Regions from separate parts of the Homo sapiens genome. Here regions 1 and 3 are each linked to region 2. Evidence: promoter capture Hi-C in 16 types of primary human blood cells and fetal thymus (Javierre and others, 2016). All regions are on one chromosome and are shown on one strand. The core of a region is centred on a gene start or on the middle of the fragment in contact, and the rest is flanking DNA. Distances in the headings are between cores, read along the strand shown. Region 1 holds the start of RPS16 (ribosomal protein S16). Region 2 holds the start of EIF3K (eukaryotic translation initiation factor 3 subunit K). Region 3 holds the start of PAF1 (PAF1 component of Paf1/RNA polymerase II complex).

The links. The method cuts DNA at HindIII sites, captures the fragments that hold promoters and counts their contacts. A CHiCAGO score of 5 or more calls a contact.
Region 1: the fragment with the promoter of RPS16 here is called in contact with the fragment with the promoter of EIF3K in region 2 in 2 of 17 cell types (monocytes and total B cells); the score reaches 5.4 in monocytes.
Region 3: a contact is called between the fragment with the promoter of PAF1 here and the fragment with the promoter of EIF3K in region 2, in 10 of 17 cell types (fetal thymus, naive CD4 T cells, total B cells and 7 more). The highest score is 23.2, in fetal thymus.

Annotation. Positions count from the first base shown.
Region 1 is chr19:39,434,647-39,437,346 of GRCh38, forward strand. RPS16 (ribosomal protein S16) reads right to left here and starts at 1,303. Exons shown (of 5, transcript NM_001020.6): 1 at 1,202-1,303; 2 at 961-1,062. The coding sequence starts at 1,249. RefSeq lists an enhancer at 497-1,076 and a silencer at 1,457-1,556. The HindIII fragment of the contact is 27,347 bases long and covers 1-2,700 here.
Region 2 is chr19:38,617,938-38,620,637 of GRCh38, forward strand. It overlaps EIF3K (eukaryotic translation initiation factor 3 subunit K), which reads left to right and starts at 1,251. Exons shown (of 8, transcript NM_013234.4): 1 at 1,251-1,390; 2 at 2,400-2,498. The coding sequence starts at 1,332. It overlaps MAP4K1 (mitogen-activated protein kinase kinase kinase kinase 1), which reads right to left and starts at 16. Exons shown (of 31, transcript NM_001042600.3): 1 at 1-16. RefSeq lists an enhancer at 540-589. The HindIII fragment of the contact is 6,969 bases long and covers 1,019-2,700 here.
Region 3 is chr19:39,389,788-39,392,487 of GRCh38, forward strand. It overlaps PAF1 (PAF1 component of Paf1/RNA polymerase II complex), which reads right to left and starts at 1,319. Exons shown (of 14, transcript NM_019088.4): 1 at 1,031-1,319; 2 at 473-502; 3 at 282-374. The coding sequence starts at 1,077. It overlaps MED29 (mediator complex subunit 29), which reads left to right and starts at 1,591. Exons shown (of 4, transcript NM_017592.4): 1 at 1,591-1,851; 2 at 2,677-2,700. The coding sequence starts at 1,636. It also overlaps a transcript of SAMD4B not described here. RefSeq lists a silencer at 1-108 and an enhancer at 1,646-1,935. The HindIII fragment of the contact is 958 bases long and covers 698-1,655 here.

The sequences.
Region 1 (2,700 bases), core at 53-2,552, 820 kb after region 2:
CGTCTACAGAAAAATATTTCTCAAATGAGCCAGGCGTGGTGATGTGCCTGTAGTCTTGGCAACCGAAAGGCTGAGGTGGGAGGATCTCCAACTCAGGAGTTTAAGGCTGCAGTTCATTAGGATTGTGCTATTGCACTCCAGGGTAGGTGACAGCAAGATACTGTTTTTAAAAAAGAACCTTATAACTCAAAAAAAATTTTTTTAACTGACCCTGCAATGTAGATATTCTTTCTTTTAAAAGTAGTAGAGTTCAGAAGGGGCAGAAATCAGACTCTGGTTTCTTTCCATTCTGAGCCAAAGAAATTGAGAGTCCCAAAAAGGGAACAGAGGAACCCCTTTTACAAGCAAGCATTTAAACAGACCCAAATTCGGCCGCACACGGTGGCTGACGCCTGCAATCCCAGCACTTCGGGAGGCCGAGGCTGGTGGATCACCTGAGGTAATGAGTTCGAGACCACTCTGGCCAATATGGCGAAACCCCGTCTCTACTAAAAATACAAAAATTAGCCGGGCGTGGTGGTGCATGCCTGTAATCTCAGCTACTCAAGAGGCTGAGGCAGGAGAATCGCTTTAACCCGGGAGGCGAAGGTTGCAGTGATCCGAGATCGCGCCACTACACTCCAGCCTGGGCGACACAGCGAGACTCCCTCTCAAAACAAATAAATAAAATAAAAAATAGTCGGTGTCCCTTCACCCTTTGGGTCCCCCCGCCCCAGTGAGGTGAGCTTCCTAACATCCCAGTTCTCAAAGCAAACCCTTAATCTTCAACAACCCCATCTCAGCTTTTACATCTTCTGAACCCCAAGCCCAGCTCTATTGCCAAATACCCCACTGTTCTACACCCAACACAACTTCTAAACATCCCGTTGCTGATGCCAGCCCCCCCAGCTTTCAAGAGCTACAACATCTCTGTCTCCAAGAGTCCTCCATCCACTCAACGCCGGTGCCGGATCCCAGCACCTTGTACTGTAGCGTGCGCGGCTCAATCATCTCCAGGGGCCGCCCGTTCACCTTGATGAGACCATTGCCGCGTTTGCAGTGCGCCACAGCTGTCGCTGTCTTCTGTAAGATACAAGAGAAACAGGGGCCCCGTGAGCTCCGGCTCCAGCTCCCATGTTACCCCCTAGATTCCTGCCCACCGACCTCTCCCAGACCCTGGCCTTCTCCTTCCCCTCCCCTTCCCATCCGGCGTCTGGCTCACCTTGCGTCCGAAGACCTGCACAGACTGCAGCGGGCCCTTGGACGGCATGGCTCCGAGCGTGGACTAGACAACCTCACCGCGCGGCGCCGCAACCGGAAAAGGAAAGCTAGGGGCCACCCTGGCCGCTTTTCAGGGTCTGCGCAGGCGCCTTGAGCACTGCGTCGCGACGGGAGAGAGCTTTACGGCTTCTGTTGCGGCTAACGGGCGGGGCGTCTGGTCAGCGGCGGGAAGGCCCTTAGGCGCTCAGAGCGGGCGGGCCCTGTGAGGCGGAAGTGGCGGGCTCTGTGGGCGGAAGGGGCGGGGCCTGGGAGTGTCGTGTGCGGACTGAAGGGAAGGCTGCGGGAGTGTGCTTCGCGTCCTCTGTAGTCGACTACCGCAGCTCTTCTTTGCATTCTGGCTCTTTAATAATCTCCCTTCGCCCTTTCTTTAAATCAGTTCCCACCCTCCCAACACCTGTAATCTTTCTCCCCTCTGGACTCCCTCCTCCCCGAATCCCCCGCATCAGAATCTTCCTTTGGAATCTACTGCAAGAAATCTGGCTGGATTCTCAGATTAAGGACTTCCAGAATCCTATCCTCCCTAGAATCCCCCTCCTTGGGGATCCTCTCCCAGAATCCTTTTCCCCTCAGAGCCCCTTCCCCTCAGAATCTCCCTTTCACCAGAATGTCCTTCCTTTCAGTTTCCTCTTCCCAGAATGTTTCCCATCCTTCTCTCAGATGGCCAACCCCAAATGTCCCTCTTAAGAGTGCTCAACTTAGACCCCCCTTTTCCCTGAATCTCCCTCCATTCGGTCCTCGTCCCCTCAGTCACCCTTCCCAGAATCTTTCTCTTGTCAGGACCCAGTACCCCTGGAATCTCCCTCCTCCAGAATCTCCCTTTCCCGGCAAATCCCCCTTTCCCGGCAAATCCCCCTTTCCCAGAACACCCCGCCCCGCAAATCCACAAAAACTTTTCTCTCAGAGACCCGTCCCTCAAAATCTACCTTTCTCCTGAGTTTATTTCCCTTCCGAGACTCCTCTTCCCAGCAACTGCCTTCCCTGGAGTTTTCCCTCCGTTAGAATCCCCCTCTCCTAAGAGACCCTCCCCCAAGAATTAACCTCTTCCCCGTCCCCACCCTAGAATCTCTCTCTTTTTTTTGAGACGGAGTTTCGCTCGTTGCCCTGGCTAGAGTGCAGTGGTGCGATCTCGTCTCACTGCAACCTCCGCCTCCCGGGTTCAAGAGATTCTCCTGCCTTAGGCTCCCGAGTAGCTGGAATTACAGGCGTCTACCACCACGCCCTGGTCGTTTTTTGTATTTTTAGTAGAAATGGGGTTTCACCACGTTGGCCAGGCTGGTCTCGAACTCCTGACCTCAGGTGATGTGATCCGCCTCAGCCTCCCAGAGTCCTGGGATTACAGGCGTGAGCCACCACGCCCGGCCGAATCTCTCTGTTTTTTGTTTTTTTTTTTTCTTTTTTTTGAGACAGAGTCCTGCTCTGTCGCCCAGGCTGGAGTGCAGT
Region 2 (2,700 bases), core at 1-2,500:
GCCTCAGGGCTCAACTTCTGGCACCTCCCTCCGTCCCCAGAAGCCCTGCACCCGCCTTGCCTCCGCGGGCTGTGGCCTCCCCCCTCCTCACTCTCGCTTCCTGCCCCAGCTGCACTGCACGACTGTGCAACGGGCTCCACCCCCCCGTCCCCTGGGCTCTGAGAGCCTCTGAGGGGCAGCTTGTCTTGGGACCCAAGGGACCACCCTCAACCTCCAAGGCCCAGGGCTGGATGTAAATGTGATGCAAATGATCTTAATCGTAACTGGGTTGGAGGGGGGTGCCTTAGAACCCCCGCCCCCGTCTCCTAGGTAGTGTCTAAACCTCTGCTGGGTGCTTGAAGGTTTGGCCACAACCCGAAGGCGGCAGGTCTGCAAAGGGATGGCTATGCAGTGTACATGCCTGTTCACCTGTCACATACATGCACTTGGGTTACCTCCTCTGCACTGCGCAGGCGTGTAGACGTGCATCTGCCTGGATACCTGTGTGCACAGTACACACGTGGATGTACCCAGGACATATACCTCCACATGCATGGCACATAACTGCATTTTGTAGGCCTGCAGTGTACAAAACCTATACATAATATATAATTCATGGCAGTACAAATGGGACGCTCGCCCTCAGCTCCAAGACCGGAACCTAATGGAGACGGGGCGCGATCCGGCGAAGTCCAGGAGCCCTCACCCCAGCCCCTGCCCGGCAGAGCACAGTAGCTTTGTGGGACCCTCCTCCTGGAGCTGGGGACCAAGGGCTGAGACTTGAAACTGGAGAGCTCAGGATCCTGCACCAGGCGCCCAGGCCTGTGGCAAGAGGGACCTCAGAACACCTCCCTCGGAACTTGGCCATGGCCTAAACGTAAGGCTGCTGCGTGCATTCCCGCAGAGCTCCGTGGCCTCATGGCCGCGCGCAATACAACGCGCGCGCACGCCGCCAGAGCTCCGGGTGCTTCCCGGTGAGTTCGCGCGCGCACGCTCCCGCGCTACCGGCACTGGAACTGGGTCTGTGAGGCCCGGGAAAAGCTTAGCCCCGCCCCCTCGCCACGAGAGGCGCCTGCGCACTGGGATCCAGTAAGATTTTTCTCACGCTGTCTGTCCAGCTTGAGTGGCGCGAATGCGCACGCGCCAATTGCGCCTGCGAGGAAGAAGTCACGTGGCAGCCGGAAAGCGTGGCGGCTGCTGCTAGAGCCTTTCCCTTTACCGCACCCAAGGAGCTGGAGCGACAACAACGACGTCGTTTCCGTTTCCACCACCTCTTCCTGTTCCCGTCCTTGAGGACGCCGTGCCGGGTCAGTGTTAGCCTCCAGCCCTGGTTGTGGAAGGCGACAGAAGTCATGGCGATGTTTGAGCAGATGAGAGCCAACGTGGGCAAGTTGCTCAAGGGTATCGACAGGTCTGAGCCCGGTTGGAGGAAGCGCTCTGGCCAAGCGGGGCGGAGGAGAGGGTTTTCCGGAGACAGCAAGGGGTGTTCAGGGTCCTGGGCTTGCCGCGGGGTGGGGTTTCTCTATCCTCCTGGAGGAGGAGATGCTTAAAGAAACGGCACTGAGCTGGGGGTAGTGGCTCACGCCTGTGATCCTAGCACTTTGGGAGGCCGAGGTAGGTGGGTCGCCTGAGCCCAGGAGTTAGAGACCAGCCTGGGCAACAGCCAAACCCCGTCTCTAAAAGAAAGAAACAAAAGCACTGCAAAGGCCTAGAAGCGAGAGAATCTTGGTACCACTCAGTCTCTTCGTAAATTGCCTTAAGGTTTCCTTCTCTGCTCCGCCTCCTTTGAGTGCCTCTTAATCTCTCCCTTCTCTGCTCTATAAGTCATTCATTCTCCACACGTTTACTGAAATAAACTGTCAGTGCTAGGCAATGCTGGGAACCACAGGCGAATCAGACAGCGGCAGATCATGCCTTCACGGTCTGAGTTCCCTTTCCATAAGGGAGACAAACCTGACAGCAGACAGCGATAGCCGGGAGAGATTAGAACTGAAATGGGGGAAGCAAAGGCCAGAGTGTTCAGGTGGACATGGAGGAAGTAGGCAGCGAGGTAGGCAGGAGAGGATGGGGCTGGATCAGGGTGGAGGCCTGAACAGGGGAGGAAGGGGTGAGTAGCAGAGACATTCAGGAGGCCAGGTGTACAAGCTGCAGTGACTGACTGGCTCAGAGGTTGAGGAGGCATCCTAGGGAAGAGCCAGGGCTCCAGTGGAGTTTAGAGCTTAGGCGAGAGGTCTGGGATAAGAATAAGTTTTACTAGAGATTATACTGGACATAATTCACTACCTGGATAGAGCAAGTGGCCAGTGCCAGATTTAGAGGGGAAGGGCGGGAGGAGCAGGTTACAGTGGCCCCTTGCTCCATAAGGTGGCTGGCCTCAGCTTCTGTCTCCTCTGTGCTCACCTATCTTGATTCTCCTTTAGGTACAATCCTGAGAACCTGGCCACCCTGGAGCGCTATGTAGAGACGCAGGCCAAGGAAAATGCCTATGATCTGGAAGCCAACCTGGCTGTCCTGAAGCTGTAAGTGTCTAGCTCTCTGTCTACACTCCCATTGCAGCAACTAGCAGGGTGCCACTCCCAGTACAGGGCAAGGGGGTGGCTGGTAGTATCCTGAACAATGCAGCATCTCTTGGTGTGCAAGACTAGGAAGCCAAGGAAGTTGGGACAGGAGGAGGGATGGTTTTTGAAAAATCAATTGCCGGGCGCGGTGACTCACGCCTGT
Region 3 (2,700 bases), core at 69-2,568, 770 kb after region 2:
GTTTGGATTCCAGCTTCACCCCTCACAGCCCTGCTTCCCAGAGGCGGAGCTTCTCTGGGGAGGAACTCAGAATGAAGTGTCCCCCATGGCAGAGTCTGAAAGCTGGCTCCCCAGTGGGAAGGGACTTGGACACTGCTTGCTCCATTAACAATTGAGCAGCTACTACTATGTGCTAGGGTAGGTACTGTGCTAGGCCCTGAGCAGACAGCAGCCAACGAGACAAGCAGTCCCTGCCTTCAAGGAACTCATACCTGAGTAGTTTTCCCATTCCTTAGTCTCACCTGTTCTGGTCGAAGGGGTAGGTGATGAACTTGGGGTCGAAGGGGATATCAGGGAGGCTATTGCAGTACTTGACTCGGCAGACCACTCCAGACCTAGGAACATTAGTGGCTCAAAAGTGGGCCCCCGCTGCCCCACCTCTGCTCCCAGCCCCACTGCCCCACCGCTCCTGGGAAAGCACAGTGGGGCTCACCTCTCAGGCAGAGTCCGGTGGGAATTGGGCCTAGTGGAGAAGAAAGAAACAGTGATAGGTGGAGAGGACGGGATTGACAGGAGAATGAAAAAGGCTTCCCCAACCTTTCAAAAGGTAGGAGGGGTGACAAATGCTGGTTTCTTTGGGTGGTGGTGTGGGGAGTGTCCAAATGCTTTAATGGAAGGAGACAAATGTTCAATTTATTTAGGAAGAAATGCCCCCAAAAGCTTTAATGAACAAGGCCAAGTGCTCAATCCCTTTTGCAGGAGATGGCTTCAAGTGCTTTAATAAAGAACCATGTACTCAATCGTCTTCGGAAGAGGGGTCTCCAAACGGTTGACTGGAGGGATCCCTTCTGGAGGGAGTCTCCAAAAGCCTAATCCCTGAACTGCACGGCGGGGAGGAGGGGAACACCTGAATCTCAGAAGGAACCCGCCCCCTTCGTCAAAGGTGAGCGCTTCATGACGTCACGGGCAGACCTGGGGGCTGGTGACGTTGTTCAGCAGAAACCCTCTCCCGATCCCCCGCCTTGCTGCAACAGAAAAGCGTGGCGCCTACCTGTGGCCATCCTCCCGCTGGGCCTGGGTCTGGATGGTGGGCGCCATAGCGACGAGGCGACGGCAGCCCGGACGGGGTCCTAGCGGGACCGAAGGGGGACGCAGAGGGGCGTGCCGACTTCAGGGGACGCCTGATCCGAGGAAGGCCCAGCTTGGCGCCGCTCCCCGCGGAAAGTGGGTTGAGATGAGGTGGGCGGGCGAGAAGAGCTCCAGCGAGACTCAGGTGAACGCGCAGGCAGCACCGGGGACGGACTCGAAGCTCCGGTTCCACCAACTGCCGCCAAGACGCTGAGGACCCAACGGGTCTCCTCAGGCCGCGACGCCTTCGGGGAAATGAAGTCCGGCTCGGAACCACACACGGATTGGCGAGCGTCTGGGTGAAGGGCGGAGCGAGGGAGAGAGGTGCTTCTGTGATTGGTGGAGAGATATCTCAGTCTGGACGCAGATTTGAGAGTGACGTAACGTTGGGGCACCTCCTTCCCCTCCATTGGCTTAATTGCCTAGGGGGCGGGACTAACTAGCAAACGGGGACTAGAAATAGGGATGCTGAAAAGCAACGGGGAGAGACGCAGTCGTAACGCACTTCCGGCGGTCTACGCGAGGAAGATGGCTGCATCCCAGCAGCAAGCTTCAGCGGCTTCCTCAGCTGCTGGTGTATCGGGTCCTAGTTCGGCTGGCGGCCCGGGTCCCCAGCAGCAGCCGCAACCGCCAGCACAACTGGTGGGCCCTGCCCAGAGCGGCCTCCTGCAGCAACAGCAACAGGACTTCGATCCTGTGCAGCGTTATAAGATGCTCATCCCGCAGCTGAAGGAGAGTCTACAGGTGATTGGCCTTAAGCAGCGAGAAGCAAACTGGATTTGGTAGTCTAGAGGGGCAGGCCGAGGGCCAGGTTAGTCGGAGAGAGCGCTAAGCAGAAAGAGGAATAGAACCTGCTGTTTTGGCCTGGCTGGTGCACGCCTGTGTTCCCAGCACTTTGGGAGGCCGAGGCGGGCGGATCACTTGAGGTCAGGAGTTCAAGACCAGCCTGGTGAAACCTCGTCTCTACTAAAAATACAAAAATTAGCCGGGCATGGTGGCGCGCGCCTGTAATTACAGCTACTCGGGAAGCTGAGGCAGGAGAATCGCTTGAACCCAGGAGGCGGAGGTTGCAGTGAGCCGACATCGTGCCATTGCACTCCAGCCTGGGCAACAGAGCGAGACTCCGTCAAAAAAATAAATAAATAAATAAATAAAACTGTTGTTTTCTGCGAGACCTAAGCGAAGCTCGGCAGAGATGGGATCAGCGCTGATGCTGAGGCTGGGACTGGCCGGAGCTTGAGTGAGGGGTTGTTTAAAGGAGAAACTGGGCTCTGGTCGTTAAAGCCTGAGGAGAGTACTGGCTTATACGGAGATTCTGCCCTTGATTGATAGGTGAGGGAGGACCCTTAGGTTATTGGCGAGAAGCTCAGGTGAGAGCGGGCCTCTGGGAGGATGGAGTGGTGACAGCTATAGGAATGGAAACGAATATTACTTTGGAAAGTCAGGAGGGAAGGTGCCAGTTGAAAAGAAAACCTGAGACTGAGTGATCTCAAGAAAGAGTGTAGATCTGCCAGAGGTATTCCCTTTTGTTTTTCCATTTCCCACGTGTTTTGTTTTTGTTTTGACTAGACCTTGATGAAGGTTGCGGCCCAA